Linked DNA regions of Homo sapiens: region 2 is linked to region 1. The links are contacts of gene promoters, found by promoter capture Hi-C in human tissues and cell types (Jung and others, 2019). All regions are on one chromosome and are shown on one strand. Each heading gives the region's core, a stretch centred on a gene start or on the middle of the fragment in contact. The rest is flanking DNA. Distances are from core to core; before and after follow the strand shown.

Evidence for each region. Contacts are between HindIII fragments. The study calls those that stand out against the background at their distance.
Region 2: a fragment that was not itself captured here is called in contact with the fragment with the promoter of HOXD4 in region 1 in 1 of the 25 tissues and cell types used here (H1 embryonic stem cells).

The regions. Positions count from the first base shown.
Region 1 is chr2:176,150,204-176,152,903 of GRCh38, reverse strand. HOXD4 (homeobox D4) reads right to left here and starts at 1,354. Exons shown (of 2, transcript NM_014621.3): 1 at 838-1,354; 2 at 1-296. The coding sequence starts at 1,270. MIR10B (microRNA 10b) reads right to left here and starts at 2,601; the gene lies at 2,492-2,601. It also overlaps a transcript of HOXD3 not described here. RefSeq lists an enhancer at 902-1,635. The HindIII fragment of the contact is 6,191 bases long and covers 1-2,700 here.
Region 2 is chr2:176,512,921-176,515,620 of GRCh38, reverse strand. No RefSeq gene overlaps it. Among named protein-coding and RNA genes, the nearest start is that of NRAL, 6.6 kb to the right of the region's middle. The HindIII fragment of the contact is 6,248 bases long and covers 1-2,700 here.

The DNA of each region.
Region 1 (2,700 bases), core at 105-2,604:
CGGCTGTAAATGCTGGCTGGGGGCGACTGAGGAGGAGCAAGATGAGGAGGAAGATGAGGACGATGACCTGCCTTTAGTGTTGGGCAGCTTATGATCTTTTTTCCACTTCATCCTCCGGTTCTGGAACCAGATCTTGATCTGGCGCTCCGACAGACACAGGGTGTGAGCGATTTCAATCCGACGGCGCCTTGTCAGATACCTGTTAAAATGAAATTCTTTTTCCAGTTCTAGGACTTGCTGCCGGGTGTAGGCCGTTCGGGACCGCTTGGGTTCCCCACCGGTGTAGTTGGGGTTCACTGCGAGACAAAACAGACAGGACAGGCAGGTCAGCGCCCGGCCACTAGTTAGGCCCCTCGCCTCCGCCGCTCACTTCCTGGCGCGCCCCGAGGCCCGCGGCCCTCCCCGCGCGCTCCCAAGCTCGCTTGCTTCCTCCCTCCCGCCCTCTCCCCGGCGCACACGCTCACTCCCACCCACCTCCTCAAACACACCCACATACCCCAGGCTTGCGGGATCCCCAAATGTGCTCCTTCTTCTGGGCCCACCACCAGGTCCGGAACCCTCAAGCATTTTGGAAATCCCCCGCTCCTCCACAGCCTTCCCCCTGCTCTGAAAATGGAGTCCTCCCCCACCCCCCCATCCCCACCCCCTTTTGCGCCCACAGCCGAGCAGCCAGCCACATGGTCCTGACCTGCTCCCTCAGCTATAAAAATTTATGGGGAGAGTAATTGCGGCGCCCATGGAAGCTCCACACGCCCCCACCTACTCGCACCCCCTTCCAGAGGACCCAGGCTAACGGGCTGGGATGTGGACAGAAAGGTTACTGGACCCTAGCCTTACCCGAATTCACGTGCACCTTCTTCATCCAGGGGTAGACCACGGCCGGCTGCTTGAGTGCCGTCCCGGAGGGCGGCTGCTTGGGGTCGGACTGACTGTAGGCCCGGGCGCCAGGCAGGGGCGCCGGCGGAGGCGCCGGGGGAGCTGGGCAAGGCTCTCCTGGAGCGGCGTAGTGACCGCCGGGGCCGCCTGGCTCTTGTCCGTGACCCCGCGCAGGCAGCGCCGAGCCAGGCCCGGGGCCGCTGCCTCCGAAAGGCTGCTCACCGAAGTCGGGCCGTGGGTAGAGCCCCGGGGGCTGGAAGTCTGCGCCCTGCGCGCCGCCGCCGTAGTAGTCGGCGCCCTGCTCGCCTAGGTAGCCGCCCTGCAAATACTCCTCGCACGGAGGGAACTTGGGGTCCACATACTTGGAGTTCACCATATACGAACTCATGACCATTAATTTCAGAAGGTAGAAAATACTAATTTTTCTCGTGTTGTCTTTTTTTCTCCTTCCATAGGGCCCTCCTACTTGCTGTCAACTGAATAAAGTTGGGCAGCCATGTGACCAGGCCAGCCAATGGCGAGGGAGCAAGTTTATCACCGGGTTGGTGAGCATCTCATAATTTTCACAAATTTAACTAAATAACATACGTGTAATCAAGTAGCTTGCTATGGCACATTTGAGAGCCCCTGCCAGATATTAATGTAGTTCCAGTCCCCAGCACCCCATTCCCCTCAGGTAATCCCAGCTTTTGTCTGCCACTGATTTTGCCAACCTTCCGTGGCCCTTCCACTCACCCCCAGCTGAATGCAACCCCCGCCCCCCGACACCAAGTAGGCACAGCTCAAGGGAGAATGAATCCTCCTATTGGGGTACAGAGCAATGAAAGGTGGGTGGGTGAACTCGCCTCTGAGTTGGGCAGAGTGCCCCAGGCGAGGAGGGTTCCTGCCTGCCCGCCCTGCCTGCAGCCGGCGGGAGCAGGGATTCTGCCATACAAAGGCCGCCGTCCTGGCTTTGTCTTCATCAGGGTCACCCAAAAGTTACCAGAATCTGGCCAGCTTGAATCAAATTAGGCAATGAGTAACCGCCATGCTTTCTACCAGTGCCCAGGCCCGGGGGTTCCCAGCCAAAGCTGGGCCCTGCCAAAATAGCAGGGGGCCCTCGCTGCCCTTGCCCATGTAGCTGGGGGTGGGCTGGGATGGTGGCAAGGGCACCTCCACCTTGTCAAAATGCACCCTAGAGCTCCCCACTGGGCTTCTTTGAAGCTTGCTTTCTTCCCACAGGCCCCAAATACAAGCAAGCCCCCATTTGGGTACCTTTGCACCTCATGTTCCTGGAGGGCAGAGCTGGGACTGGGCAAGCTGGCCTTGTACCTCACTCCCTAGTACCCCAAAACCTAGCCCTTTGGCCCTGCATCCATGCAACCAATTAGGCTTGCATTCTCTCTTTCTCTCTCTCTCTCTCTTTCTCTCTTTCTGTCTTTCTTTCTTTTCAGCACCCAGAGGATACTCTGTTTAAAGGTGAGGAGCTTCTGGAGAGGAAAAGCTGCTCTATGTCACCAGGCGCAGCTGATCCTCCTGGAGTCCAAGGTAATAAAACAGAACGAGGCGGCTGACCAGCGCCGGCTGCTTCTAGTCTCCATGTCGCACTTTGGTCTCTGGCTATTCCGAAGAAACGTGAAGTTTTTGCATCGACCATATATTCCCCTAGAATCGAATCTGTGACTATACGGATACCACACAAATTCGGTTCTACAGGGTATATATAGACAACGTTACAACCTCTGGGTCCCACCCAGAGTGAGGTACCTAGGTCGCTGCCGGCCCCAATCTCTTCCTCTGAGCCACCACCGTTCGACGCAGCCACCCGCACTTTCTGAGACAGTT
Region 2 (2,700 bases), core at 15-2,514, 360 kb before region 1:
CACTTTTTCGTACTTACTCAATAAAAATGAAAACACATATTCATACAAAGACTTATGCTGAAATAATTATAGTAATTTGTTCATGATAGCCAAAAACTAGAAATCACACAAATGTCTATCAAGTGGTGAATGGAGAAACAAAATATTTATGTATCCACATAATGAAATAGTTCTCAGCAATAAAAAAGGAACTTACTGATACTGGCAACATCATGGATGACTATCAGAAGCACTGTGCCAAGTGAAAGAAGCTAGACACAAACAACTATACACTGCTTGATTCCATTTACAGTCGTGCATTCCATACTGATGATTTTGTCGTTGTGGGAACACCACAGAGCGCACTTACACAAACATAGATGGTACAGCCTACTACACACCTATGCCAAATAGTATAGCCTATTGCTCCTAGGTTACAAGCCTGTACAGCATATTACCGTACTGAATACTGGAGGCAATTGTAACATAATAAGTATTTGCATATCTAAACATATCCAAACATAGAAAAGGTACAGTAAAAATGTGGTGTAAAAGAAGAAAATAATAATACATCTGTATAGCGTACTTACCATGAATGGAGCTTGCAGGACCGGAAGGTGCTCTGGGTGAGTCAGTGAGTAAGTCATGAGTGAATGTGAGGGCCTAGGACATTACTGTAGTATACAGTATATGTAGTATATGTATACTGTAGTATACAGTATATGTAGTATACAGTATAATGTAGTATACAGTAGTATACTGTAGACTTTATGAACACTGTACACTTAGGCTACACTAAATTTATTTTAAAAATCTTTCTTCAATAATAAATTAACTTTAGCTTACTTCAACATTTTTACTTTATAAGCTTAAAATATTTTTTAACTTTTTGACTGTTTTGTAAAAACACTTAGCTTTAAACACAAACACATTGTACAGCTGTATGAAAACATTTTTTCTTTATATTCTTATTCTATAAGGTTTTTTCTATTTTTATTTATTTATTTTTTACTTTTTTGACAAAAACACAAATATACACATTAGTTTAGGCCAACACGGAGTTAGGATCATCAATATCTCTGTCTTCCACCTCTACATCTTATCCCACTGGAAGATTTTCAGGGTCAAAAACATGCAGGGACCTGTCATCTCGTATGATAATAATGCCTTCTTATGGAATGCCTCATGAAGGACTTGCCCGAGGCTGTTTTACAGTGAATGTGGGTGTTTTCTTTTAATAAATAAAAGGAGTATACTCTAAAATAATGACAAAAAGTACAGTATAGTAAATACTAAATGATAGAAATGTTTCGGCTCCGTTATAATCTGTCATAGAGGTGGCCCATCCTTGACTGAAATGTCTTCAGATGGCGCATGACTACATATAAAATTCTACAAAAAATGAAAGTGGGAGTAGGGAGGGAATTGCAATGGGATACAATAGAATATTTTGAGGTGGTGGCAATTTTCTATAATTTTCATTGTGGCGTCGGTTATATGGCTACATACATTTGTCAAAACACATTGAACTGTACCTTAAAATTGGCCCATTGTCAATGTAAATTATATCTCAATGAAAAATGTTAAGGTCAATTTCTCTTGTCTATTGACTGATAAAGCACTGCACTGGGCTCTTTAGATTATTTCTGTGTCACATACACTCATGCACCGTATAATGACGTTTCATCCAATGATGGCCCACATATACAGTGGTTGTCTCATAAGATTATAATGGAGCTAAAAAATTCCCATCACCTAGTATTTACTAGAATATACTTTTGTCATTATTTTAGAGTGTACTCCTTTGACTTTTAAGAAAGTGTTAACTGTAAAACAGCCTCAGGCAGGTCCTTCAGGAGCTATGAAGAAGGCGTTATCATCATAGATGACAGCTCCATGGGTGTTACTGCCCCTGAAGACCTTCCAGTGGGACAAGATGTGAAGGTGGAAGACAATGATATTGATGATTCTGACCCTGTGTCGGCCTAGACTAATGTATGTGTGTGTGTGTGTGTGTGTGTGTGTGTGTGTGTTTGTGTGTGTGTGTCTTTATTTTTAACTAAAAAGTTCAAAAAACCAACAACACATTTTTAACAGGAAAGAAGCTTATAGAATAAGAACGTAAAGAAAGAAAATATTTTTGTAAAGTGTACGATGTGTTTCTGTTTAAAGCTAAGTGTTATTACAAAAGAGCCAAAAAGTTTTTAAAATTTTTAAAGTTTATAAAGTAAAAAAGTTACAGTAAACTAAGGTTAATTTATTTTTGAAGAAAGTTTTTTATGAATTTAGTGTATCCTGGGTGTACAGTGTTTATGAAGCCTACAGCAGTGTACAGTAATGCCCTAGGCCCTCGTAGTCCCTCACTACTCACCAACTCATCCAGAGCAACTTCCAGTCCTGTGAACTTCATTCATGCTAAGTGCCCTGTACGAGTGTACCATCTTTTTTCTTTTACACCATATTTTTTACTGTACTTTTTCTATGTTTGGATATGTTTAGATATGCAACTACTTATGTTACAATTGCCTCCAGTATTCAGCATCCTGTACAGCTGTAGAGATTTGTAACCTAGGAGCGATAGGCTATATCATTTGGCCTAGGTGTGTAGTAGGCTATACCATCTAGGTTTGTAATAAGTACAATCTATGATGTTTGCACAATGACAAAATCATCTAAAGATGCATTTTTCAGAATGTATTGCTGTTGTTATGTGATGCAAGA